Regions from separate parts of the Homo sapiens genome. Here all the other regions are linked to region 2. Evidence: promoter capture Hi-C in 16 types of primary human blood cells and fetal thymus (Javierre and others, 2016). All regions are on one chromosome and are shown on one strand. Each heading gives the region's core, a stretch centred on a gene start or on the middle of the fragment in contact. The rest is flanking DNA. Distances are from core to core; before and after follow the strand shown.

What was found. The method cuts DNA at HindIII sites, captures the fragments that hold promoters and counts their contacts. A CHiCAGO score of 5 or more calls a contact.
Region 1: the fragment with the promoter of AGPS here is called in contact with the fragment with the promoter of HOXD11 in region 2 in 5 of 17 cell types (naive CD8 T cells, naive CD4 T cells, non-activated CD4 T cells and 2 more); the score reaches 10.6 in naive CD8 T cells.
Region 3: a contact is called between the fragment with the promoter of IFT70B here and the fragment with the promoter of HOXD11 in region 2, in 1 of 17 cell types (naive CD8 T cells). The highest score is 5.4, in naive CD8 T cells.
Region 4: the fragment with the promoter of HNRNPA3 here is called in contact with the fragment with the promoter of HOXD11 in region 2 in 1 of 17 cell types (naive CD4 T cells); the score reaches 5.3 in naive CD4 T cells.
Region 5: the fragment with the promoter of SCRN3 here is called in contact with the fragment with the promoter of HOXD11 in region 2 in 1 of 17 cell types (total B cells); the score reaches 8.2 in total B cells.
Region 6: the fragment with the promoter of NFE2L2 here is called in contact with the fragment with the promoter of HOXD11 in region 2 in 4 of 17 cell types (naive CD8 T cells, total CD4 T cells, M2 macrophages and 1 more); the score reaches 7.8 in naive CD8 T cells.
Region 7: the fragment with the promoter of CHN1 here is called in contact with the fragment with the promoter of HOXD11 in region 2 in 1 of 17 cell types (endothelial precursors); the score reaches 6.1 in endothelial precursors.

Annotation. Positions count from the first base shown.
Region 1 is chr2:177,391,465-177,395,494 of GRCh38, reverse strand. It overlaps AGPS (alkylglycerone phosphate synthase), which reads right to left and starts at 2,722. Exons shown (of 20, transcript NM_003659.4): 1 at 2,446-2,722. The coding sequence starts at 2,705. It overlaps LOC100130691 (Putative uncharacterized protein FLJ44553), which reads left to right and starts at 2,804. Exons shown (of 9, transcript NR_026966.1): 1 at 2,804-2,922. RefSeq lists silencers at 1,000-1,294, 2,503-2,722. The HindIII fragment of the contact is 4,249 bases long and covers 1-4,030 here.
Region 2 is chr2:176,104,645-176,108,629 of GRCh38, reverse strand. It overlaps HOXD11 (homeobox D11), which reads right to left and starts at 1,350. Exons shown (of 2, transcript NM_021192.3): 1 at 494-1,350. The coding sequence starts at 1,274. RefSeq lists an enhancer at 3,494-3,985. The HindIII fragment of the contact is 7,005 bases long and covers 1-3,985 here.
Region 3 is chr2:177,550,896-177,554,570 of GRCh38, reverse strand. It overlaps IFT70B (intraflagellar transport 70B), which reads left to right and starts at 1,775. Exons shown (of 1, transcript NM_152517.3): 1 at 1,775-3,675. The coding sequence starts at 1,808. RefSeq lists enhancers at 1,509-1,798, 1,167-1,970, 1,971-2,775. The HindIII fragment of the contact is 6,507 bases long and covers 1-2,943 here.
Region 4 is chr2:177,210,816-177,214,607 of GRCh38, reverse strand. It overlaps HNRNPA3 (heterogeneous nuclear ribonucleoprotein A3), which reads right to left and starts at 1,814. Exons shown (of 11, transcript NM_194247.4): 1 at 1,737-1,814. The coding sequence starts at 1,808. It overlaps MIR4444-1 (microRNA 4444-1), which reads right to left and starts at 1,882; the gene lies at 1,809-1,882. LOC105373759 (a long non-coding RNA gene) reads left to right here and starts at 2,197. Exons shown (of 1, transcript NR_157853.1): 1 at 2,197-3,213. RefSeq lists an enhancer at 1,176-1,847 and a silencer at 1,387-2,176. The HindIII fragment of the contact is 9,993 bases long and covers 1-3,792 here.
Region 5 is chr2:174,393,562-174,397,207 of GRCh38, reverse strand. It overlaps SCRN3 (secernin 3), which reads right to left and starts at 1,478. Exons shown (of 8, transcript NM_024583.5): 1 at 1,391-1,478. CIRSR (corepressor of RBPJ and splicing regulator) reads left to right here and starts at 1,496. Exons shown (of 10, transcript NM_004882.4): 1 at 1,496-1,657. The coding sequence starts at 1,586. RefSeq lists enhancers at 550-1,050, 1,548-1,597. The HindIII fragment of the contact is 1,293 bases long and covers 1,166-2,458 here.
Region 6 is chr2:177,263,322-177,267,376 of GRCh38, reverse strand. NFE2L2 (NFE2 like bZIP transcription factor 2) reads left to right here and starts at 2,650. Exons shown (of 5, transcript NM_006164.5): 1 at 2,650-2,845. The coding sequence starts at 2,801. RefSeq lists silencers at 2,507-3,376, 3,637-3,796 and an enhancer at 3,477-4,055. The HindIII fragment of the contact is 5,708 bases long and covers 1,177-4,055 here.
Region 7 is chr2:175,004,014-175,007,970 of GRCh38, reverse strand. CHN1 (chimerin 1) reads left to right here and starts at 2,590. Exons shown (of 13, transcript NM_001822.7): 1 at 2,590-3,077. The coding sequence starts at 3,059. RefSeq lists a silencer at 2,830-2,889 and an enhancer at 2,874-3,420. The HindIII fragment of the contact is 4,598 bases long and covers 1,118-3,957 here.

The DNA.
Region 1 (4,030 bases), core at 1,473-3,972, 1.3 Mb before region 2:
AGTTTCTGTGTTCCCTCATATTTTGATGAAAATCTCAAAGTACCAGTACAGGACTAGATTTTACCACTAGTCGTCTAACCCCGAACCAAAGACCAGGGCTTCCCACCAGCTGTAACCTATGCAACAAATGGGTTACAGTCGTGCCTGAACTATCGATGCCTTCAGTCCTTGGAGCAGCCACACAGGGCATCCCTGACCAGTCACCTTCAACCATCATCTTGGTGTGCCTTACAAACGTTACTATTTTTTCTCTGAATGCTGTAAACCAAGCCATTAAATCTAACCATAAGGAAAACCTGCCCTCCTTACTTGGTTCTAAGAGTGTGAATCTACATAAAATGTACAATCACATATATGCATACAAATGAGAACACATAAATGTACATGAAACCATTTAGAAAATTTTAAACCTAATGACAGCTATTAATAATATAACCTCAATTGAAGCCAGGAGACGAGATGAAATCCTTTATTCCTCCCCTCCCCACCACTCAGTAACCAAGTTATGGAAAATTTACCTCCTAGCATTTTCTCAATTAAGTTGCCTACTCCCAATAATATGCCTTAGTTCAGAATCCCAGCATTTCTCCCTGGAATAATAGTCTCCTAGTCTCTCTGCCTTTAGACACTGTGAAAATTGCAGCTACCATTCTTTGAAAGGTTATGTAACAGGCATTGCACTAAACACTTGATCATTTAACTCTATTTTTTTCAATTCTCACAGCAACACTGCAAAACAGGATTACTGTTCCCGTTTTTACAAATGACGGTGACTGAAACTCTCAGAGGTTAAGTGATTTGCCCAAGATCATAGAGCTGTAACGGTGTAGTGGAAATTGAAATCCAGGTCTATGTTCCCAGCCATTATACTGCCAAAATGCTCAACTGTCTTCAATTTGCTCCCAGTGTGACCTTTATCAAAGGTAAATCTAATCATGTATTGCCCCACGTAAAATCCTGTAAACAAGATTCACCTCTCCAGTCTTCGTCCCCTGTCATTCTCACCCTCTCCTACTACACTTGAGTCTCAGCAGTTCCCTAATTTGTCTCTCACTTCTTTACCTGTGAACATACTGTTTGTATGCCAAGAACAATTTCCCCCTTTGGCAAACTATTAGTAATGCAAACATCCAAAATTTACTCAGACAATCTTTACTTTGGAACATCTTTGCACTAACAAACACAAACCCAAAACTGGGTTAAATGACCAGGTGGTATAGTTCCCAGTTAAGTTTCTTATAACGCTGTATTATAATTTTACCTACTAAGCTATTCCTTCCTTAAGAGTAAATACCGTATTTTTAAATTTCTGTATTGCTGGTACAGTGTGTATTTTGTAAAGACTCATGTATGTTGAATTAATTCATCAGAAGCAAGTATAGCTTAGGAACTTGGCCATGAAGTCAATTTGATGTGCTTTCAAATTCTAACCTGTCACACAGCATATCTGCTAAGACTCCAGCAGACTTAATTTATTCATCTGTAAAATGGGAGAAAACCGCACATACCTCATAGCTTGGGAAGAAACAAAGGATTTAGCACACTTTGGCACACTTAAAAGTACACTTTAAACATTAGCTACTTATTTTTTTCACTCTCGGTTTATCCATTTATCCACGGTGACAAAGCCACACGTCAGAAAGTAGCTTCTCCTAATAGCCTTCATCAGAGATTGAGGAGATCGAGACCATCCTGGCTAACACGGTGAAACCCTGTCTCTACTAAAAATACAAAAAAAAAAAAAAAGATTTCTCCAAAAACATCGAAAGTCAAGATCTCTTACAAACATCCCTCATCGGTTAGACTCTTGTCTTTTAGCTTCTGGTTACACAGAGCTCAGTAGCTATACCACCACACCTTAAACCACTAGCTAGTGTTTGCAGTTTATGGCTTCTTACCATTCATCGGTTTCCTCCCTCAAAGTCAATACATCTTGATCCTAAGCAAGTGGAACTTACCCCACAGAAACCAGTCAGCACCTTTTTCCAGGGCACCACCAGTTTCCCCCACAGCAGGCTTTCGCGAATGAGAGAGATTCCTATGATCTATCATCTAGTACAAATTTATATCTCCTCGGAGAAAAATAGAACCTCTGCTACCCATTCCAAGACCTCAGCACCAAAAGTATTAATTCAAGATAAAAAATGAATTCCTGGCACTAAAAGCTCAGGAAAAAGGAATCCTTTAAACCCTTCTCCAACGAGAGTTCTTCAAGCCTGTTACCCTCACATAGTGACCAAAATCCACCATCCCATCCCGCCCCCTTCCTGACAGAATCCAGGGTCTAGTCCACTCTCTCGAAAGAGAGGTGGGTCCCTACTTTCAGGGACCGGGATGCCTTCCGCCCACCCGTGTCACTTCCCTTCCCACCTCGCCTGTGCCCTCCTGCAGCACAGGCCCGGCCTGGTCCCTCGACGCTAACTCCTTCCACATACCGCTACTCACCGCTTCTTTGGGATGGTGCCCGACTCCTGCGCGGCGGGAGTGGCCGTGGGCGCTGCCGTGGCCGCCGACGCGGCTCTCCGCGCTTTGCACTCATTGGTACTCAGAGCCTCCCGGGGCCGGCCCAGCAGATGGCCAGAGAGAACCCGCAGCCTCCGCCCGGCGCGGTCCGGGTCCGGGTCCCGGTCCCGGTCCGCTGCAGACCCGTAGCTCGCGCCCGCGCCCAAGCCAGTCCCACCCGCTGCAGCCGCCGCCTCCGCCATGGCTACCGCCTTGTGCTGCCGCCCGGAACCGCTGGGCGCGGGTGAAAGGTCACTCAGAGCGGCGCCCGGCGCGACCATTCGCTGCGGCGCATCCCGGCAGCCACCGCGGCGACTTGGCGGCGGGTGCCATGCGTCTGGAGCTTCACATTCTCTGCCCCCCACCCACCGCGCCGGCGCTCCCTTGTCACGCCTCGGGAAGCGCGCACCTGCCAAGCAGGTGAGTTCGAGCTGACTCCCGGTTGGCCCAGCCCGGTCCAGCTGGACCGAGAGCCAAACCACGTCCGCCCTCGAGGTGTCCTAGAACCCTGGGTGGTGTCCTCGGGTGTGGCCTGGGGGCTTTCGAGGGCAGATGCCTTGGAGCAGGAGAAATGGGCAGTGCTACTGGACCTGATGGATCCAGCGGCATCCTTTTCCTGAAAGAGATTCTAATGTTCCACCTGTGCTCTTCCTCCCTGCGGGGTCACCAAAGTAACTCAAAGCTGACCATCATTGCCTCTAACCATTAGAGCAAATAGCTCTATCATTTTCTTATTTCTCACCACCTATTTCGTGCCTGGCACTGTGTTTAATGCTAGATCACAAGTAAGTACAGAAACTGAGTTGCAACTTAAGTTCTCATTTCATTCATTACTGGATCCTAACCCCTTCCTAACTTTAATAGAGATAAAGTTTCTTATTGCTACAGACAAAAATTACCCAAGAGCTGTGAAGACATCTCAGTTATTTACAGATTGAATTCATTTCTGGAAGATAGCACGTGAAAAGTGCTCCTCACCTGTTTCAGCCGGTGTCTTGCATAAGAATTAGCTTAGACAAAAACTCACATACACTGGCCATTGTCATTCTCCATCCTGTCACCACTTTCACATCATGCTTTCCTAACAAGAAAAATATTGGCAGAGGAATCTGAAGAACACCACATCCATGGGACTAGAGACTAACAATTGCTCTCTTGGGTGTTGCCAGCTTCTAAAATTGAGATTATGCCTTTAGAGTGAACTTCCAAAGAGGCCCAGACTGGTTAAAAACTCTCAATTAAGGGCTAAGCAAATTGCTGTTGGAGGGCCAGCTCTAGTCTGTGGCCTGTTTTTACACAGCCCTCATGCTAATGGTTTTTGTATTTGAGAAGGGTTGTTAAAAGAAAACAAGAAATTTTTTAAAAGAATATGCAACAGAGACCTTATGTGGTCCCAGAAGCCCCAAAATATGTATTACCTGGCCTTTACAGGAGGTCCGAATGTCTTCTGAAATTTATATACGAAGAGATACCAAACCATTGAAAACAGTCCAAATGTCTAGCAACAGAGAAATGGTTAGTCAATATG
Region 2 (3,985 bases), core at 101-2,600:
GCAAGGCAGGCTCTAAACTGGAACCTGAGGGAACAGAGACAAGAGCAGGCCCGCCGGGGCATCTGCTTGACTCCAGCGGCGCGCGTCAGCTAGCGGCTTGGATAAAGTCCAGTGCAAGGATCAAACTCCCCCCACTTCCCCACCCCCCGCCTCTCTCCCTTAAAAGCAGGAGGCTCCGGTGTATGCACTCACACTGGCTTGAAATCTCCCTCCCTCCCTCCCTCCATGGTATCTAGCAACCCCCTGCCCAAAACTGGGAAAAGGCTCTCGACAGCTATTAATGTCCTCCTCGAAGTCTACCTTAAGCCCACCTAAATTGGTTTCCTACCATAAACACACTTTACAACGGCCCAGGAAATCTTATAGGATGTATAAACCTCTTCGAATGCTTATAAAGTAGCACATAAAAAGGCGCAAGCAGAGGGAGGCCTCCGCCCCCCCCCCCTCCCCCGCGGCCCCCGGGCCCACCGCTTGCCCAGTACCCGGTGCCTACCTGCGCTGCTGCTCTTCTCGGCCCCCGCCTCTCCCGGGGGGCCCTCGCCGTCGCCACCGCTGCCTTCTGCTGCCCCCTTGGGCTCCGAGCCAGGGGTCGCCTTGGTGCAGGGACTGCCCCCGCCGCCACCAGCCCCGGTCCTGGGGTCGCCCTTGTCGGCTGCGCCCTCGGGCTGTGGCGGCGCGGGTGGCGGCGGGGGCTGCGGCCCGGCGAACGGGGGCCCGGGCGCTGCCTCGTAGAACTGGTCGAAGCCCTGTGGCAAGATGCCATTGCGGCCCACCGCGCTGTAGAAGTTGGAGGCGGCGCCCGCGGGGCCGTGCGGCGGCCCCGGCGCAGCGCACACCGGCTCAGGCGCCTTGAAGAGCACGTCCGGCCGGCGGCCCGCGGGCGGGAGAAGCTCGCGTTGCATGGCCGCCTCCTCGGCCGCCGCGGCCGCCGCAGCCGCCGCCGCCGCCGCCGCGTAGTAGGGAGCGTAGCCCCCCGCGCCGCCGCCGCCCCCGCCGGGGCCGCCCCCGCTGCTGCCGCCCCCCGCGCTGCCGCCGCCGCCGCCGCCGCGGTACGGCCACTTGGCGCGCTCCAGGCCGTAGTCGCGGAAGGCCACTTCGCGCACGGGCTGGACGTGCGGAGCCAGGTTGGAAGAGTAGGGGAAAGTCATCTGGCAGGACGACGGTTGGGAAAGGAACGAAGGCTTGCTAGCGAAGTCAGACGGGGCCACATAGTAGGCGCAGCCCGGCAGGTACATGCTGGCTGCGCTCTGGCCGCACTCGTCAAAGTCGTTCATGACTCCGCGGCGTGCGCGCCAGCGAGCCTCTGGCCGCTCCCCGCGCAGCCAACCTGAGCCATCGATTGCACAAGAGGCTTGGGCCAGGATCAACTAAGCAAAAATCCCCACCGGGCGCTGACGTGCAATTCATCTTGATTGATTCTGGTGGTAATTATGTCACGTGACGCCATGAAGAGAAATGTCCTTATATCTATATCAACGCTCGCCAACACGCCCCGGGACGGCTCCTGGCGCCGAGACGCGCGCGCTGGGGGCGGATCGGCTGCCCTCTGCCGCCAGCTCTCCCCGGGCGCTCCCTGACCAGGCTGCGCCTCAGGCCGGTCACCTGCGCGCCGCTGGCCGCTGTCACCGCTGGGCGCATCTGCCACCGCCCGAACGGGCCGCCCGCCCGCGTCCGCCCTCCCGCGCCGCTTTAAGTACGCGGACCGAGGCCGGCGGGGAGGAGGAAGGAGGGGGAAGAGGGGGAGGAAGGGGGAAGGGAGAGAAGCAGCGAGCAGAGGGGGGGAAGCCCCGGCTCCAGGCTCCCTAGAAGCTAGGAACTAGGTGTGAGGGTGTGAGGTTCCGAACCCCACCCCCCTTACTGCAGCCGCTCCCTCCCCCGCGACTCTGCCACCCTCTGCAGCTCACCCGCCTGGGAGCTTGTTGCTTCTTGTTCACCGGGCGGGAGTAATTTCGCCACTCTCCAGGGCGCAGGGAGCCCTGATTTACATATTTTTCTGCCCAGCGCGTTCAGAGTGGAGTGACTTGGCTCTTTCCGGTTCTGACCCCAAGGGTGCGAGTGCTGGCCTCGGAAAAACCCAGGCCATTCACCACCTAGGCACTCACCCAGGCCGGGGCCTTCGTGCCCACCCGGCTCTCTTCCCTTCTCTCTGGTTTCCCTCTCTGTTCTTGTCTCTCTTTCTCCTTGCCTCGTTTCTCTTCAGTCTTCTCCCTTCTCTCTCCTGTCTTCACTTCTCTCCTTCCTCTTCTTTTCCGCTTTCCTTCTTCCTTCCTCTTGCTTTCCTGTCTCCCTTCTCCTCTCTCTCTCTGTCCTCTCATCCTCTCCCCTCCTTTCCTCTAAGCTGTGTGTCACTGTCTCTGTCTCTCTCCCCGTTGCCTCTCTGCCTTCTCCTTCAGCACTGAAGCCAGGAGGGGGCTCAGCCCGTGGTCCCCAGCCTCCCTAGAATCTGGGGAGTCTGGTGAACAAAAGGATCTGGAGTCCTACTCTTAGGGTGCTTGGCTTCCCGCTGGCTCCCCACAAGAGACAACCCCCACACACTCGCACCTTCGTCCTCCTCACCCCTCTGCTTTCAGGCCTAGCCTGGGTGTCCGCCTTATACCTAGACCCTTCACTGCTTCGGAGCCCCGCCAAGGCCTGCGAATCCACGCCGCGTTTCCCCGAGGCTCTTCTGGTACCCTTGGGTCTGCATGGTCACTTCAGCCCCTCCCCCAAGATAGGTTGTCTCTCTAAGGGCTCTCAGCGGAGCCTGACTCCCTCCTGGAGCCCCTCTGTGTCACCTGGCTCTGAGGCAGACTCTTCGTGGGGCACCCCATCCACTCCCCCAAGGCCTCACTCTCCTCCCAGCCTGCCGCGACCCTCTCCTAGCCCATGGGTCCAGGCAAGGCCTGGGATCCCACCTCCGAGTGAGCAGACGCTTTTCAAAGGTAAACCGTCTCTTCCCAAACCCAAATCCCAGAACCGAGGGCAGGAGGCTGCCCCTTTCCCCAAGATTCCTCCGCCCAGGCAATCCCAGCGCTGGGGCCTGGGCCTCAGTCCTATACCCAGGGCAGGCGGCGCTGGCTGTGATGCTGGTTCCCTCCCTGGCCCGGGCTGCTGCAGTGCCGGTGCTGTGCGCTCTGCCCACCGTGCGGACAGACAGAGAAAAGGCGGGTGGTCTGAGCTAATATCTATTTTCTGGCTGATGTACCCCCCCTTCCTCTTTTTCTCCTCCCTCCCTTTCTCCCTTCCTCTCTCCTTCCTCCGCCCCTTCCCATGTCTTCTTCCCTCCCCCAACACTGCGCAAATAGGTCTGTGGCGACTGGAGGGCATCGAGCCTCCCCCAACTAGAACTGCCCATCTTGTGTGCTCCCTCCCCGCAGCTGGCACCCCCGCCCAGATTCCAGCTGACATTCTTCTCCTCAACCCAGACCCCCAGCACACTTATCTGCCTCCCCATCTCCATCCCAGGCCCAAGCCTCTCCCTTTCGGGCTCGTGGTCGACGCCCCTGGATCTCTCTCCTAAAATGGCTCCCTGGACGCTGCACACTGGCCCTGCGGTAGCTCAGGACCCAGGGCAGCTGCGAGGACTTCAACCCGGGTCTTTATGTGTCTGGGGATTCGCAAAATTCTCGCACCTTCTCTCTACTGGCGGCACGGGGTGGGGTGCAGGCAGCCCGGCGCCCCCAGTATGGAGCCTGCTGACCGCCGAAGAGGGAAAAGGGGAGGACGAACCATTCAAGTTCAACGACATGGCGACGGCAGCTCCGGCGGGAGCAGCGATTTGGCGGGGGAGGGTGAGCCATCTGCAGTGGCGCGCCGGTGCATAGGGGAAGGGGGCGGCCGGCCCCTTTCGGCTCCTTAGCGCGGACCCTTGCCCCCCGACCCACTCCACAACCCAGAGCGCTTTCATTCCAGTCCCAGCCCGCTTGGCTCTTTGGCCCCAGCTCCCTCCTAGTTCCTACCCCCATTCCCCAAACCCAGGGAAAACCGCAGCCTCCGGACCCGCGCG
Region 3 (3,675 bases), core at 526-3,025, 1.4 Mb before region 2:
TTCTGATTCACATGTTCTTCATCAGTAATATGCAGAATACAGGGTGGTTATTATGATTAGAAATAATATATATAGGTGGTCTAATAGAATGTGATGCAATATGGTTGGTGTTGGCTCCAAAATTTATATGTAGAAAAGATTTATGAACAGCAATACTGTTGAAGAGGCAGTAAGGTACCTGCATTGAAGTATTTAATTATATAGCAAAGACATGCTCTGACTTGGACTGTTTATCATGGGTGGTAGTGAGGCCAATGGACATCATGGAAGACTACAAAAGACAATGCTCTGTCCCAGGCCACCATATGATAGATGTTAATGAATTACAACTATTATTGTTACCTTGAAAACTACACTATTTACAAGTACCTCACTGGGATAAGCCAAATTCATATTTTGCTATCTTGTCTATGTCCCTAATTCTTGATTGAAAAATTGTATTTATTCTCCCTTAAAGTCTATGGTCTCCAGGTCAGTTTATCTAGGGGTATTTTTTAAATTGGTGATTAAATATAATTTTATGGAATAATTAAGCCCCTAGTTTTTCACAGCCCCATCATGGCCACTAATAAACTGAAAAAAAATTATACAAAAATAGCCCCAGGATAATAACATGGAATCTACAGCATCTATTCCAAATATATAACAAAGAATGAAAGAAAACCCAGAATGATATCTTGTACAGTCTAGCAAACCTGCATAGAAATCTTCAAACTAAGAATCTGGAAAAAAAATTAAAGTGTAGGCAATCTTTTCTTATTTTAACAGAAGAAAATCCATATTTATCAGTTCAATATCCAAAATCCCTAGAAGGCTGAAAAGTACAAACTGAGCATGTGTGTCTCTCACACACCCACACATCACTGGCTGACTAATTTAGTAGTTAAGAGAGAAGAGTAAAAATGCATAGGGAAAGGAGCACATTTTAATGTCTTGGATTTTCCCCTCTTGGAAAAAACTGAAGTCATGCATTTCTCCAACGTTTCTACCTAGTAGTGAAAGTTGGAACTCCAGCGCAATGGGGATGGCCAAGGGTAAACGCCAATATATACTCAGTAATATTTGTTGTTACGGGAAAAAAGAGCGGGAGATACTTGGACCTAAAACCGAAACTCTCCCAGTACCAATCAAGATTCACAGTCCTTTTTCCTCATTAACCTCTGGAAACCACCAAATTAAGGATTCCTGCTCGCCGCTCTATTCCGTTCTTACAAACTGTGCCCTCGGGGTAGTGCAAAAAAGAACGTGCTCTAATTCCAGGGTAATTCCAAGAGATAACTCGCCTTTTGCCATCCCGGTTCTTTTACTGAAACTAAACCAAAAGCCAGCATTATTATCGACCACACCGTGTACCAGGCTCAAAATCGCCAGGAACATGGGGCCGGAAACCTTCCTCCGCCGCGCCAGAGACCACGGTGCCATAACAGACACAGTGAGCGCCCCTCATCTTTAAGAGGCAGGGAAGGAGAGTTACCCTGCACCCCCACGGGCCGCCGGTTCGGTAGGTACAGCCGGGACTACGTCTCCCAGCATGCAGCGCGGCTACGACCCGCGCCGCGGAACCACTGGAACGGTGCATGCCGGGACGAGTAGATTCAGTCTCTGAACGGCCCGGAGTAGTCTTTCCCCTCCTGAATGCCGCCACTCCGCAGTCCAGAGTATTTGAAGATCAAGCTGAAATTGAGAGACTGACGAGAGTGGTCCCTTTTTGTTCCTAACAGATTTCTTGCGACAAGGAAACCGGCAGTCTTCCGCTTCCGGTTGCTCTGTTGCCATAGTAACCGCACCCATAACAGCCGTGGTGGTTATGGCTGGCCTGAGCGGCGCGCAGATCCCCGACGGGGAGTTCACCGCGGTCGTGTACCGCCTCATCCGCAATGCACGCTACGCCGAGGCGGTGCAGCTGCTGGGCGGAGAACTGCAGCGGAGCCCTAGGAGCCGCGCCGGCCTGTCGCTGCTAGGCTACTGCTACTACCGCCTGCAGGAGTTCGCGCTGGCGGCCGAGTGCTATGAGCAGCTGGGCCAGCTGCACCCGGAACTGGAGCAGTACCGCCTGTACCAGGCCCAGGCCCTGTACAAGGCCTGCCTTTATGCGGAGGCCACCCGGGTCGCCTTCCTTCTCCTGGATAACCCCGCCTACCACAGCCGGGTCCTCCGCCTGCAAGCTGCTATCAAGTACAGCGAGGGCGATCTGCCAGGGTCCAGGAGCCTGGTAGAGCAGCTGCCGAGTAGGGAAGGGGGAGAGGAAAGTGGGGGCGAGAATGAGACCGATGGCCAGATCAACCTGGGTTGTTTGCTCTACAAGGAGGGACAGTATGAAGCTGCATGCTCCAAGTTTTTTGCCGCCCTGCAGGCCTCGGGCTACCAGCCTGACCTTTCCTACAACCTGGCTTTGGCCTATTACAGCAGCCGACAGTATGCTTCAGCACTGAAGCATATCGCTGAGATTATTGAGCGTGGCATCCGCCAGCACCCTGAGCTAGGTGTGGGCATGACCACTGAGGGCATTGATGTTCGCAGTGTTGGCAACACCTTAGTCCTCCATCAGACTGCTCTGGTGGAAGCCTTCAACCTTAAGGCAGCTATAGAATACCAACTGAGAAACTATGAGGCAGCTCAAGAAGCCCTCACTGACATGCCACCCAGGGCAGAGGAAGAGTTGGACCCTGTGACCCTACACAACCAGGCACTAATGAACATGGATGCCAGGCCTACAGAAGGGTTTGAAAAGCTACAGTTTTTGCTCCAACAGAATCCCTTTCCTCCAGAGACTTTTGGCAACCTGTTGCTGCTCTACTGTAAATATGAGTATTTTGACCTGGCAGCAGATGTCCTGGCAGAAAATGCCCATTTGATTTATAAGTTCCTCACACCCTATCTCTATGACTTCTTGGACGCTGTGATCACTTGCCAGACAGCTCCTGAAGAGGCTTTCATTAAGCTTGATGGGCTAGCAGGGATGCTGACTGAGGTCCTCCGGAAACTTACCATACAAGTACAGGAAGCAAGACACAATAGAGATGATGAAGCTATCAAAAAGGCAGTGAATGAATATGATGAAACCATGGAGAAATACATTCCTGTGTTGATGGCTCAGGCAAAAATCTACTGGAATCTTGAAAATTATCCAATGGTGGAAAAGATCTTCCGCAAATCTGTGGAATTCTGTAACGACCATGATGTGTGGAAGTTGAATGTGGCTCATGTTCTGTTCATGCAGGAAAACAAATACAAAGAAGCCATTGGTTTCTATGAACCCATAGTCAAGAAGCATTATGATAACATCCTGAATGTCAGTGCTATTGTACTGGCTAATCTCTGTGTTTCCTATATTATGACAAGTCAAAATGAAGAAGCAGAGGAGTTGATGAGGAAGATTGAAAAGGAGGAAGAGCAGCTCTCTTATGATGACCCAGATAAGAAAATGTACCATCTCTGCATTGTGAATTTGGTGATAGGAACTCTTTATTGTGCCAAAGGAAATTATGACTTTGGTATTTCTCGAGTTATCAAAAGCTTGGAACCTTACAACAAAAAGCTGGGAACAGACACCTGGTATTATGCCAAAAGATGCTTCCTGTCCTTGTTAGAAAACATGTCAAAACACACAATCATGCTTCGTGATAGTGTTATTCAAGAATGTGTCCAGTTTCTAGAACACTGTGAACTTCATGG
Region 4 (3,792 bases), core at 565-3,064, 1.1 Mb before region 2:
TAGCCAGAATGGTCTCGATCTCCTGACCTCGTGATCCGCCCGCCTCGGCCTCCCAAAGTGCTAGAATTACAGGCGTGAGCCACAGCGCCCGGCCCATACATTTAAACTCAAAACTGTGATGAAGAACAATCTAAAAGTTCTGAATGTCAAACTTACAGAAACTCACTGCTTTCAAGCAAATTAATTTAAAACAGGCATTCCTAAGCCAAACCAGCATTTCCCAAAAAAACTGAGGAAAAAAAAAAGCCGATCAAATAGCTTTCTATAACCCATGTTTGTTATATGCTGCAAAAATCTGCAATTTACAACTCAATTTTAAGAGTCACAACTAACTGGCAAGTTGGACTTACATTAGGAATGGTATGTATTGTCTGACTATAAGAACGGAGTACAGCAAAACAAAAATTGAGATTTTTAAGAATTAAGATGTCTTGAAATTGTTTTATACTTTAGTCAAGACTTTTTAACACATTGCATGAACTGTCATTTAATGCATGCATTAAGGTTTCCTTCACCCGAAGTTCTTAAATAAGGGGCTCACATTTACATTCTAATGTCTTCCTGTGTCTCCTAGAGGTAGAGATGTTAAACCGTTTAATGTGAAGAGATTGTCACATGCTAGAAAAAAACGTTAATAGCCTAAAGCATTAATTCATGTAATCTCATCTTTTCAAGTCTTGGATAAATGTATTCGATTGACAATAACGAAATCGACAAAAATATTTAGGATCCACATTAAATGTACTGCAAAAACGTGAAAATTTCAACTCTGGTTGCAGTCCTCTAAATAAAATTCCAGGAAACTACAACCAGAGCCGACTCAAAGAATGGGAAAACATGAAGATAAAAAACATTTCTAAATTCTTCCTTAACATACTATACTCAAATTCTTCTCCACCCACCCTCCTCAGCGGCCGGAGCCGGGAAGGAGCTGGCTGGGTTGTTTTTCACATCTACACTCAAATTCTCAAAAATTAAGTCCTTCGCCCACATGGCGGTTTAAGAAGTGTAATGTAAGTACTTTAGCAAAAATATATCAGGAAGTATTTTAAAGCAGCAAAGTTTTTAACAATCTCGTATTTCCAACAGGATGCTGCGAAAAAAAGAAAAGGCCAATTATCGACTTCTCGCGGAGAGGACCCGTAAAAGGCCTAGAAAAGCGTCGGCAGAACTTCAGCGAAAGCACTACCTCCCCATGCTTCGAGGCCATTTGCGGCTTTTTCTGCCGGGCCGCCTCCGCCCTCTTCCCTCCAATCCCAGGCTCGCTTTCCCGGCGGCAGAGCGAGGCGGCGGCCATTGCGGGCCAATGCGCCATTTCGTAACGCGGCGGCGGATCAATGTCAATGTGGCCGCCGCCCGCTTGCTCGCTCGCCCGGATGTGCCTGCTCGTCCCCTCCCCTCCCCCACCACCTCCTCCCAACCGCTCCCGCCGGGGCCCGCCATGCCGCCCTCGGCCTCGCTTCGGAGGCCGCGCAGCCGGCAGGCCGGCTTCCCTCCCGAGGCCTCCCCGACCAAGCCGCGCCTCCAAGGGGCCGCCTGTGCAGCCGAAGGTGAAGGCGAGGCGGGCGAGGGGCCCCAAGGAGGTCTCCAACTCTCGCTCCCCTCCCCCTCCCACAGCCTGTCTCAACGCAAGAGCGCGGGACGGCCGACCCGGTCCACCCGGCCTCCCCGCTCCCACCGAACCAGGCCCCCAACGCCGGCCATTCCCCACCAACCCCCCGCTCTCCCCCTAATACCTCCTCCCCCCGGCGGCGACGGCGACGGCCGGAGTCGGGCTGGGGGCGACCGGGCGGCGGTTTTACCTCCATTTTGAGACCGGACTCGCCTCTTCCAACTCGAGTTCAATATGGGACCGAGAGGAAGAGGCGGGGCCAGTCGTCACGTGACGCGTTTTCCGCGCGCCGCCAGTCTGTTGGGGGAGGAGCGAATTGGGAAGGGGGCGGAGCCAAGCGGGCGCGAAGAGGGACTGGACCAGCGGGTTGGCGGGCGGAGGGCGGAGGCGCGGCGTGCCGCGGGAGCGCGCGCGCCTCGCCAGCTTTCAGGGGAAGAGGGCCTTTGCCGCCGTTCGCGTCAGGGCGAGTTCCGGGACGTCAGTGCGGTCTCCGCCAATGGTGAGCGTCCACGTAGAGGGAACGCCTTGTGATCGCGCGTCACCAGAGAGAAAGGCCTTTCCCTTTCTTCTCGCGCTTGTCCCTCATTCCCCACGCAGGCCTCTAGTTCTCCATTTCAGAATTCATTCTATTCCTGTGCCCGAAATAAAACCCACGTTTTTCTTGCTTGTAATTTAAAGGTTGCAAGAAAAACTCCTCGGCCCCTCGGACCATCTTTCCTGTTTCCAAATGCCGGGGACCAGTGTCTGTGACTGCGCCGCCTGCCTGAGGGCATGTACTGAAAAGCCCTGCGACTCCAACATGTGGGACTCACAAGCACCTTGGACAGGCCTCAAAACGCGGCTGACATACAGAATTTTTACCATTAACGACCTGAGGCAGGACTGGTGGAGGTCAGTTCATTAGTTACTGATCTCAAGAAACAAGTCAGGACTATTTTCTAATGTGCTTCTTTCAAGTTAGTGTGGAAAGAGCTGATGCATCTGTTGTAGCTGACGGAATTTAAGGAACTGAATAATTGACAAGATTTCCAGAAAAGCAGGGTCGCCAGATAATGCTACCTGTTTGCGAATGATTGTTACCGTAATGCTCTAGAGAGCTAATCCTTTCTCGGCCTAGTCAGATGATTTTAAATCATTTGATTTTACAGAGCTTTAGTTTCAGTTTTTTAAATGAAAATGGGGATGGGATTAGGTCATCTTCTAACACCCACGACAGCCATAAATTGATAATCTATGGATCCATATTTAAAGTTACTGATAAAAATAACCACAATTGACCAGCCTCCCTTCCCTGTTAGGAAATGCTTTATATTTTAATTTAGCAACCCATGTGACCAACCCTTTTAGAATTGAACTGGCTCTCCCTAGGAAAGGTTAGAAATCTAATCAGTTATAGTAAGTTTCTGTTAACAAATGGGGAGTGGTCGACTTGGAGTTTGGAAAAGGGGAGCGTAAAGTCTAAAAGTTTGTTAATTTATCTAGCCGTTGCTCCAGGAGGACCTGTGTTATAGTTTGGAAACATTTACAAAGGGTATTTTTGTGGGGCAGAAAACAGTTAGCAGTCCTTAATGTAATTTGGTTGAAATAACCGTTCAAACCAGACTCCTCCTGTTGCTTTGATTCCTTTTTCGCAAACTTTCTTATGTTCTACGTATCCAGGTGCTCCTGATGGCCAGCAATAGACTTGAGACATTGGAAGAATGTATAGCCTTAGCGTCTATTTAGTGTTAAGATTTTGTAAGTCTAATTACTGTGAAATAGTCCTGGTAACTTTATCGATTCTGGATACAAAGAAAAATGCAAAGTGAAAGACCTTTGGAAATTGCTATTCACACCAGAGTACTCTATGAGACATTACATAGGTGATCAAGAAGAGTGATCACCTGGCTGCACTTTAGGGTATGTTTGTCCAGGTTTTTCTAATAAGTTAATTCTAATCAATAACTTTTGTTCTAATTAGTAACTTTTGTATAAATGTTAATGTTAAATCGCGAAACAATGTGGGATGGGATACTAAGTTCTCTCCAGGAACATGAAATGTCAGCCCATTTATTCACATCTTTTTGTCCTCCCTATTGTATTGGTCCAGATTTGTTGTTCATCCTGACTGTATGCTGTTTTTAGACATTAGTTATTTTTTATGCTTTTGTCTAAACAAGCTCTGGCCGGGCGCCATGGCT
Region 5 (3,646 bases), core at 229-2,728, 1.7 Mb after region 2:
CTTAAAAAGAAAAGAAAATGACTAAATAAAAACTTCAGACTGAAACTCTTAAGGGTTTTCCTCTTCTCCTCAGTGACGAGAAGTCTGATGTCTTGATGGCTTCTGTTATTTTCTTTCTGTATTTCAACTCTTATGTCCTGGATCTCCTTCTATTTGTGTTTTATAGTTAGTTCTATCACTATATAACTTTGGCAGACTATTTAATCTCTCTCTTACCTATGCCTTCTGCCTCATCAGAAAAATAAGACACTATTTGATGGGCTGTTATGAGAACTTAATAAGGCAACACGTAAAGTGTTTTGCACAGTGCATAGAACATAGTAGATACTCACATGAAAGCTGTTATTGTTATTATTTGGTAGGAGAGAAAATTTCTCATAAAGGCTTATTCGTTTTTTGTTTTTTTTTTTTGATGGAGTTTAACTCTTGTTGCCCGGGCTGGAGTGCAATGGAGCAGTCTTGGCTCACTGCAACCTCCGCCTCCCGCGTTCAAGTGATTCTCCTGCCTCAACCTCCCGAGTAGCTGGGATTACAGGCGCGTGCCACCACACCCGGCTAATTTTTCGTGTTTTTAGTAGAGACGGGGTTTCACCATGTTGGCCAGGCTGGTCTTGAACTCCTGACCTCAGGTGATCCACCCACCTTGGCCTCCCAAAGTGCTGGGATTACAGGCGTGAGCTACCGCGCCCGGCCAAGGTTTATTCTTAACATTACCCTGATAGAGAACTTGGTTGGTGGATCACCTGCTGCAGTAGCAGCCACGTCCACTCAAAAACCTGGAGTCCCAAGGGCCATCAAGCTGCAATAGTAACCTGAGCTGCCTAACTGGGGTCGTAGGGAAAGCTAAGGAAACTTGCCCCCTGGTTAGAATTGCACCTAGCCCACTGAGGAGGTGAAGCCTTGAGAGATTTTACCAACTCCTAACGCGTATTCGTCATTCAATAAGTATTTATTGAACGTCTTTCGGCGCCAGTACCGTACAGCTGGGTACAAAATAGACAGGGCCTCCGTTCTTGCAGAGCTGTCTGTCATTCTATTTCACGCGCTCTTAGTTCAGCCGGCGCTTTCAGAAACATCATATTGTTGGATTCTCGCAAGCATACTACGGTTAGGGCCGGAATTATTATCTTCATAACATAGATGAGAAAAACAGTGCAGAAAAGCTTTTGCAGCTCGAGTCAGAGTCCACAGAAAGTAATGGGCTCGAGCTTCAAGCACCTTTGGTCGAAGGGCCGCCGCGGTCCACCCCGCACCCCGGCCCTGGGCGCTCAAACCGCAGCCGGTGCAGCTGGGCTCCGGAGCCCCTCGGTCAAGCAGTGCCGCGCCACAGTTGGGTCTTCCGGGTTTCTGTCTCAACTATGCACGCCCCTCCCCCGTGCGCGCCCCTCACCTGGCCTCCCAGCTACCCGAAGTGACAGGTGGACGGAGGGAGGAGTGGCCAGTGGAGGCATCAGTTGCCGGAAGCTGTCACCTTTGATCTCGGAAGTTCCCCCTTGCTGCTGGAAACGCAGTTCCGGTTAGGCGGCTGAGTTTGTTTACGTTGCTAACAGATCTAGCCCCTGCTTTCCCTAGTTCCAGTTCCAAGATGGGGAAATCCTTCGCCAACTTCATGTGCAAGAAAGACTTTCATCCTGCCTCCAAATCCAATATCAAAAAAGTGAGTAAACAGACCCGGGGAGGGATTAGGCCCACAGGGACCGCCTTCCCAGAGGCTGCTGGAAGTGAAAGTGATGGTGTCTCTGAGATCCCTAGGACAGCCTCCGCTTCTCTAGGCCTAAAGCCCTGGTGGTCTCGCCTTTCTCTGCTGAGCAGCTCGCTGACGCAGCGGGTCCTCAGCGTTTATTCTGCAACAGCGAGGAGACCGGTGGCCTAGAGAATCTTTGTCGGCCAGAATGCAAATCCATAATATGCGAAGACTAATGTCAAAATTCCTCAGTACTTCCTTCAGCTGATTCTGGTTTTTTGTCTTTTCGGATCCCAGGGATCACGGCTTCTGAACTCTACTTTTCTGTACAAAGAAGCCTCCCCGTTTACTTAAGATAGATCTTTAAAAAAATTACCTAATAATCTAGTGTCTTTTTGATGACTAAACTCGTTGAAGTTTAGTGTTTTACATAATTACAGGTCTACCAGTTGTAATACTTTGGTGAATATCATAGTAATGAAAAGCAAAAGAGTGAAGTAGAAAGAATCAGCTTTGGAGTCAAACCTGGATTCTAGTTATTCGAGCAGTCACTTTTAGCCTTAAGACCTTGCACAAAATATTTGTAATATCTGACCCTCAGTCTTCTAATCTGTAAATTAAGGATGATTGACTTAATTGTGAGGATTAAGTGAAATAGTGAAGATAAAGGATTTGAAACAACGTAGGCATCTATCACTGTGTCCACTACAGAGAGGAGGTGCTCAATAAAATGTTGATTGCCCCTACATAGAAACTTGTGAAAATAACTAAGCTTTTATTTGTTTTTAGAACGAGTTGAGGTGATGAGATACTGCTATATACTCTCACTTCTAGACCAGTGATTCTCAACTTTTTTTTCACTGTTACCTTCCTAAGGAGTCTTATTAAACATTTTTTCTTAATAACTCCCCCATGAAATTTTAATAACACAGATACACCTTGAAAGCTCTTTGGTAATCATCCAGCCCCATCTCCTCATTTTATAAATGAGGAAACAAATTTGCCAAGAGTTACACAGCTAGTTAAATGTTGTACCAGAACTAGGATCTGGAACACCTGATTAACCCAGTGATTTTTTTTCCACTGCACCAGTTTGTGTTTGTGTGGTTGCAACTGTGGGAGGGAGAGGTTTCTTGTATTTGGTTGGCTCAATAACTTTTGACACCAAACACAGACATTTCCTTTCTCTGCATACTTAGGGGGTCAGCTGTTACTATTTTTACAAGAATGAAGAGATTAGATGGAATTCAGGTGCTTGCTTATTTGCTGTTTATATTTAGAGACAAATATACCTGAGAAATCATAATTTTTTACTGGAACTTTTGACATTTCGCTTTATAAATTTCAATGTATCAGCTTTCTTACAAGAAAAAAGAAATCCACAGAGAATAACTTTTGCAAGTCCGCTATGAGAAATTCAGTAAAGCAGTTATAGGCTTAGAACCTACATTCTTCTCATCTGTGTAAAGTGTTATGTAAAATGTACCAAATATTGTTGGCCTCTTTGATCTGTTTTATACTTTTCCCAGGATAGAGGAGAAGAATGAAATGTTTTTGATTAGCAGACCTTTCTAGATAGTTAACACTTTATGGGGAGAGGGGGTGACCTCTAGCATTCTTTATTAACTAAGGATAAAGGAACTATATTAAATGAAGATAAATAGAAAAATTTATTAGGGTAGGAGGAAACTTTTGGAGGTGATGGATATGTTTATAGTGTAGATTGTGATGATGGTTTCACAGGGATATACTTGTCACCAAACTCAGGTTGTATACATTAAATATGTACAGCTTTTTATATGTCATACTCCAGTAAAGTTTTTTTTTTTTTTTAATAGAAGTGGAAGAAACAAAGGAGTTTGATCAAAGAGTGCAAAAGAGTTCCACCATGAAAATTTTAAGGGCCAGGTATGGTGGCTCATACCTATAATTCCAGCACTTTGAGAGGCCAGGAATTCAAGA
Region 6 (4,055 bases), core at 1,401-3,900, 1.2 Mb before region 2:
TCGGCTCACTGCAACCTCCGCCTCCTGGGTTCAAGCAATTCTCCTGCCTCAGCCTCCCTGAGTAGCTGGGACTACAGGCGCATGCCACCACAACCAGCTAATTTTTGTATTTTTTAGTAGAGACAGGGTTTCACCACGTTGGCCAGGATGGTTTTGATCTCTTGACCTCGTGATCCGCCAGCCTCGGCCTCCCAAAGTGCTGGGATTATAGGCGTTAGCCAGAGCACCTGGCCAATGATGCTTATTTTTTATGAGCAATCTGGAGCAAGGTATCACAATTGACACATCTCAAGCATGTAGGGAAGGCCGTCTTCCCAAAGACAGCAAATGATTCAGGAATCAATGAAAAGGTACAAGAGTCAATAGAACATAAAACCAATTGGAGGGTATTTTTCCCAAATAGTAGCGAGGAGAGCCTGGCAGCAAAAAAGGATCCCATGGCAGCAAGACAGGAGAGAAAAACCAGCACCTCCTCTTTCTTGTTCTTTCTTGCTCCTCCAGAGCTTCTCAACATGCATTATCTGTGCCCTCCTAACACAATAGGCAGGTTTGGAGGGCAAAGCAAGGGCTCAGGCTCTCATATGAAGACAATCACATTCCAGAGTCTGCCAAGATTGGGCACCTCCTTGACGTGGGTGGTCTTGAGAATGGGGTTCCCTTTATTTGGCTAAACCAAATGCCAAACAGCTTTTCCTTAGTGTTTGTTTTTCTTAAACAAGTTCAAACTCTTATCATATTGCTCCCCTCCCTTTGAAAATATGTACTCTGCAGATGCCTGAAATAACACACTCTCAGCAAATTGCAGCATTGGAAAAGTGAAGGTTATTTCATTCAGTCTAAACTCAATGGAAATTTTGTGGCTTAACAAGGAAATACCAAATACTTTATAAACTCCTTTAGAGCAGTAACCATGTCATATGACTCTGGTATCTCCTACCTACTAGGCTCATTGTCTACCTTCTCTGATGTCGTAATTTTAATAAGTAACTTGAATTGTTAACAATTTACTCTTGTCTTTTTCTTGGACTCAGAAATGTTATTTTATTATTATGTCTCTGCATCTTTCATGTGAGGTCCTTTGCAAACAGTTTTCTCCTAACTTGTTTTCATTGTGCAGATCATGTTGCAGGGTTTTCACATAACAGCTGAAAGGAATTAATAGGAGTTAAAGAAGCTTGCTTCAATTACAAGTAATTAATTTAGGCTTCACTTATCTCAAGGAATATCTGAATATACAAATTTACACATAAATCCTGGGAGTGTCAAATTATGCAACCTAGAGAAAGTAAGCTCTGCAGCTTTTTGGGCGTTGATTGCTATAGTCAGGGGTGTGTGTGTGGTTTTTGAATGAAATAGCAAAACCACTGCCAGTATTATCTACTTCACCTGGTTTTGAATAATTCCAGGAAGCTAGAAACTGAAAACCAGTCTTGTATAGAGTTAGAAAGATTGTAAATGCAGAAGAGGAAGAAAAAAACAAAACTAAACCATTTATCTATCCTCTTTGAACCCTTATAAGAGTTCACAATATTCCTCGTTTCAAATACTTGAAGTCTTCTCTGGGCAATGATTAATTTTTAAATAATTGTTTTTAATGTAAGACATAAAACATACGCACTGCAGATTTAAAGCATACTTGGAAGTAACAAGGAGAAACATAAAAATCGTTGATTCCACAGCATTTAATATATTGGTAACCTTCAATTTTTTTCTAGGCACGTTTTTATAAAATGAGCCAATACTATACAAACGTTTTTGTAACTTTTTTTAATTTGTACTATTTTGTGAGTACGTGAAAAAGAAATTTGTAAAGAGTAAACGATTACAGCATGTTGTGGTATTACACACTGTTGAAGGGCGCCATCTGTGGCGTGGTGGCTGCGCTTTGGTGGGAAGAGGTTCTCTTGGGGTTCCCGTTTTTCTCCCAGCTCTGGGTGGGCAATACTGACCACTCTCCGACCTAAAGGGGCTTCTCCGTTTGCCTTTGACGACCTGAGCTTAGGAGAATGGAGACACGTGGGAGTTCAGAGGAGGGCGTTCAGGGTGACTGCGAACACGAGCTGCCGGAGCTGTCCACATCTCCCCTAGGCAGGGCCCACTGGCCCCAGCCCGGGAAGGGAGCAAGGGCGGGAGGGCAGTTGGCAGTGGCACGGTCTGGGTCCAAATCTTTAGCCCCCCCCACCCCGGCTGGCGCCATTCTCGGGCGGTAAAGTGAGATAAAAGCAGGGCAAGGTTCTGCAACTCCAAATCAGGGAGGCGCAGCTCCTACACCAACGCCTTTCCGGGGCTCCGGGTGTGTTTGTTCCAACTGTTTAAACTGTTTCAAAGCGTCCGAACTCCAGCGACCTTCGCAAACAACTCTTTATCTCGCGGGCGAGAGCGCTGCCCTTATTTGCGGGGGAGGGCAAACTGAACGCCGGCACCGGGGAGCTAACGGAGACCTCCTCTAGGTCCCCCGCCTGCTGGGACCCCAGCTGGCAGTCCCTTCCCGCCCCCGGACCGCGAGCTTCTTGCGTCAGCCCCGGCGCGGGTGGGGGATTTTCGGAAGCTCAGCCCGCGCGGCCGGCGGGGGAAGGAAGGGCCCGGACTCTTGCCCCGCCCTTGTGGGGCGGGAGGCGGAGCGGGGCAGGGGCCCGCCGGCGTGTAGCCGATTACCGAGTGCCGGGGAGCCCGGAGGAGCCGCCGACGCAGCCGCCACCGCCGCCGCCGCCGCCACCAGAGCCGCCCTGTCCGCGCCGCGCCTCGGCAGCCGGAACAGGGCCGCCGTCGGGGAGCCCCAACACACGGTCCACAGCTCATCATGATGGACTTGGAGCTGCCGCCGCCGGGACTCCCGTCCCAGCAGGTGCTGCCTCGGCCCTCTGGGCCCTGCGGTGGTGCCGGGACGGGGGCGGGGGAGCTAGGGAACCGCGGCCCGGGAGGGACAGCCGCAACCGGCTTCCCCCACGTCTGGCCAGAGCCAGGACCGCGGCGCTGGGTAGAGCCGCCGCGCTTGCGCCGGGGCAGGGCGGGGAGGGGCAGCGGGGACGCGGCCGGGTGATCCGACCGACCACGAGCCCGAGGGCGAACGGGTGGGAAGTTGCGGGAAGGTCTGGGGACTGAGCCCGCTCGCGTGGGCCTTGGGGGAGAATCCAGCCGCGTCCCCGGGCCCGAGAGCTGGGACTCCGGAGCCCCTAAGTTTGAGCGGCCCGGTGGGCGGCGGGGCAAGAGGGGGCGGACGCTGGCCGTCTGAGCCGGCGCGGCCCGGCCCTTCCGGGGCTGCGCGGCTCCCCCGCCTCGGTGCCGGCAAAAATGTGCCTAGTCACGGGGCCGCTCTCGGGGGAACTGAGGTCGCCTTCGGGCTGGGACCCGGAGCCCCTTCGCCGCGCCCCAAGACCTCCTTGAGTGCGGGCTGCGACGCGCTCACCCCGCTGGGCCGTCTGTGGGCGCGGCTTTGCGAAGTCATCCATCTCTCGGATCACTCTCTGGCAGCCTTGAGCTCTCTTGAAAGCCCAGCCCCGGGACGAGGGAGGAGCGCCTTAAGTGCCCAGCGGGCTCAGAAGCCCCGACGTGTGGCGGCTGAGCCGGGCCCCGCGCACTTTCTCGGCCGGGGAGGGGTTCGGGCTCGGGCACCCGGAGTTGGCCCCTCGTAACGCCGCGGGAAAGTGCGGGCGAGGGCAGTGGACTCTGAGGCCGGAGTCGGCGGCACCCGGGGCTTCTAGTTCGGACGCGGTGCCCCCTGGTGGCGCTCACCGCGCGCGTGGCCTTGGCTTCCGTGACAGCGCTCGGTTGGCCGTCACAGCAGCCCTCGGTTGGCCCTTTCCTGCTTTATAGCGTGCAAACCTCGCCGCGCCAGGGCCAAGGGACAGGTTGGAGCTGTTGATCTGTTGCGCAATTGCTATTTTCCCCAGAGCGGCTTTGTCTTTGGATTTAGCGTTTCAGAATTGCAATTCCAAAATGTGTAAGACGGGATATTCTCTTCTGTGCTGTCAAGGGTAAGAGTTGCGAGTGTAGATTAGAATTTCTGTTGCTTTTAGTCTGTTAGTAATTTTTTGCTTTCAGCTATTATTTCTCCC
Region 7 (3,957 bases), core at 1,341-3,840, 1.1 Mb after region 2:
ATTTGGAAGTCAGTTGAAAGGAATGGCTCGTGGAAAGCAGGATGCTTTAAAGGGAAACATAGCAACATTCACACTGTTTTGTTCCAAATTGTACCTTAAAAACAGCTGTGTGTGTGTGTGTGTACGTGGGTGTGCGAGTAGAAAGGGGAGAGGAAAAGGATCTTCACTTGAGTTTAAGCAGGGTATTTCACTAGGATTCAGTTGTATTTGGCCAAACTAGTGAGTGGAAAGCTGGTCTAGTAACCAAAGGCCGGCTGTATGATGGGAGGGTAAATCTGAGTGCAGGGCAGCTCCTTTCTCTCTGTCTCACTCCCAGGACAACCCCTCAAGGGATGGAGAGAGCTACTAGCAAGCTGAGCTGCAGCACCAAAACCTTGATGCTCTAACAGAGCTTAACAAAGAGGAGAGAAAGGCATTGTTTCTCTTTTAGCATGATGGGACACATAGTTCTGAGTAGAAGGGCATGTTAATAAAAACTCTTTGAGACAAAATGCAACTTCCCAAACTCTATGCAGAATGGCTAAGGACAAAATACTCTCGTTATTTTGCTTCTAATACTAAACAGATTTTTCTTTTGAAATTCAAACCATGCAACCTCTAAATTGATGCGGGATGTGGGTAGGGAAGGTGGTCGGTGAGAACACCAGAAATCTAAGATTTTCCCATTGGTTCTGCTACTAAATAGGTGAACACATTTGGGAAAATCTTTTTACGGGGAACTCAATTTTTTTACCTATAAATCATGGGAGTTTTGGTCTTTTCCTATTCAAAATTCAATGGTTCTATTCTGAAGGAAAATATTTTCCTTTAAATTATAAAGGCAAAAACTTTCTGAGATTACAAAAAACACTTCCAGGGGCTCACCTAAGGTCCCTGAATAGCCCATAATCCCCTTGAAATTATGTGAAAAATTTCCGGTGAATGTGTGTATGTATGCAAGCACTTTTCTAAGAGGAGGGACAGTATTTTCATTAGAGCCTCAAAAGGAAATTTGGTCCAAAAATGTTGAAGACCACTAGTTGAAACAGTAAATGGAGTCTTCGGTTTCTGATTTATTTGGCTGCAGAGCAGATTAGCAGCAATCTTTATATGGTTATAAAATCTATCCCACAAAGCTTTCTTGAGTTTCTCATTTATTTTCATGAGCTGTGTGTTTGTAATTTTTTATGAGCAGAAAGGTTGTTCAAAATCAAGAGTCCATTTTCATGAAAGATTTTAAATTCTGGGGATTTTAAAGATGTATTTTGATTAGTGGCTAAAGAGAGCCATTTTACATCACAAAATTCCAAACATATAGCATCTTAAACACTTGCCCATTCATGTTGAATCATTTTAATATTTCTTTCTTCCTGAGTTAACTGACTTGAAACAAAAGGCTTGGCTCCTCCTTCCAACCTGCTTTTCTTCTGATGCTTAAGTCTGCTTTGAAATAATGATGGTGAATTAACTGTGGTTCCATTGGAAGTACTGTAGTAATCTCCCACTTTATCAGGATTCGATCTCTAAGATACATTAAATACAAGATATTTCTATAATATTCTTAAAGAATTATTTGAAAATGGGAGAGAAGACACTAGGGAACCTGAGGAACTAAGAGGAAAGACGCCTGTAGAAAGAAAGGAGAACCAAAGAGAAGATCTACATGATCAGATACCAAAATAGTATCAAATCCCTAAGCAGAGAAACAAGAAAAAAGAAGGAATTTCTTAAACAGGGAACACATATAGCAACTAGAGAAGAATGACTTTTTGAATACATTAAACGACAACGACGAAAAACATATAACCCAGCTTTTCAAGAACATCTTTTGGCTGACAATCTCAAGGCGTTGTATGGCTCCTCATGGCAGAGACAGAGGTGAGGAGACAACATCACAGAAAGGAGGACGTTGCCAGTGATTATCAGATAAATACAAGAAGCTCAGGGGAACAATCTTTTGTGGCAAATAAGTGCCAGTCAGTGACACATGCTGATTTTTTTTTCCTTGAGACAATATCAAAGAGGTATAATGTAAAGGGAAGAAAATCAGGTGTAAGCATTGGTCTTTTAACAAATTATCTTAGGTAATCTCAGATGCTTTTTAAGCGACTCCTTTTCCTAATGTGTGTCAATTTCATCAGAACTACTAGCAGCTCCTAAGTCCAAACGGAGAGGAATGCAGCTTTCAGTGCCTCTGTTCCTACCAGAGCCCTGCAGCTTCAGGTCACCGGCTCCAGCCACAGTGAGCCTGGAGGGCGCCAGGAGAAGAAATATGTTCTCACACGCACCAGGTCCCCAGATGACCCTGCCTGGGCGCTGCGTTCACTCAGCATCCTCCTGTGACTCTTCCTCTTTCGAGTAACAGCGTTTTTCTCCTCTCTGCGCCTCCTCAAATTCCATTCAAGAAAAAACCTGGGCTTTCAGCTAAAACGCACACCGGCCCCGCTCCATCCCGCTCCGGGCGGCCGCCTCCAGGGGGGCGCTGGTGGCTCCTCGCAGCCGCGGGAATGAGGGCGCACCCTCTTACCCCCGCGCGCGCCCGTTGCCATGGGAACGCACTCGACCGGGAAGCCCGAGGGAGAGGCGGGAGGCAGCGGCGCGGCCGAGCTCGTGGGAGACGCTATCGCAAGATGGCGTCTGCGAGGCCGCGGGATGCGGAGTGAGCGCGCCCCGCCGGGGGCTGTGCGAGGCTGCTGCTGCTCTCCCCGTCGCCGCCGCCGCCGCCGCCAGTGCGGCGCCGCCTCTCCGCCAGCCACTGCGCCGCGGCCAAGCCTCCTGCCTCGCAGGTACCTCCTCCCGCGCGCACGCTCCGCGCCTGATGGCAGCGACAAGTGCCGGCTCGCGGAGAGCTAGCGGGGCTCCCTGGGCCCGGTGCGCCCGACAATAACGCGTGAATAACTTTTTCTTGCAGCGGTCCCCCGCGTCCCGGCCTGCAGCCTCCCCGGGCGCCGGCGCCCCCAGCACGCCCCATCGGGCACCCCACTCTCTCCGAGGTGTGGGTGCGGCGGGCTGATGAGGTGATCCCTAGCCCGCCTGGGAGGAGCGCCTGGACTCGCGGGCGGCGGCGAGCGCCTTTACAATGGCCCTGACCCTGTTTGGTAAGTGCAGCCGTCTCCCCGCGCCGCCGCAGGTGGGCCGCGTCCCGGGGCTCGGGGGCGGGGGCCTGGGGGGCCTGGGCGCCCGGGGAGGGGGCGCGGCGCGTGGGGTCGGGGCGGGCCGGGGCCGCAGAGTTGGGGCGCCCGGGGCGCCGGCTTGCTCCCTCGCGCCTCTCCCATTGTTTCCTCTCCCGGCAGGGCCGATGGGCGTGTGCTCCCCTGGCCAATTCTCGGCTGGGAGGCTCAGAGGTCCTGGGTGTTTTGCAAACGCACAAAGATTCTCTAAGATGCCAACTTGGGAGTGAAGTTAACTGGTTGTTTTCAAACCTGCCTTTCCCGTCGGTAAATAAATCCTTGGAAAGTTTATTTATTTTGAACGAGGTATCTGTGAGTCCCCAGCCTCCTTGGAATTGCCAAATGCATGTGTTGCTTCCTGTTGGACTATTGGGGAATTTTTTTTTTGGACTCAGTATATTCCGTTGGAAATAAGTATGATTTGTGAACTGAATATGGGTTAAAATTGAAAATGTTTGCACTAACGAATGAGAGCAGACAGAATAAAGTTGGTTACCAGAAGATAACTGTAATCTCAGGAGACTGAGTATTCATTAAGAATGAAATGTTATTTTTGTGGTGTAATTACTGCAGCACTGTTGCTTTTGGTGGTTAAGACTTCAAGCTGTTTTTTTCTCAGTCTGCAATGACAATGGGTTGGGAAAAAGGACTGAAAAGATACATTCTTTCCTTTTACAAAACGACTATGGTACATACGTACCTGACTTTAAGAAAACTCAATATGTGAACATTAGACGTTCAAAGTATTCAGCTTTTTTGAAGAAGCAAAGTACAATGATATGTAATTGATAGCTACGAGAACAGCCTA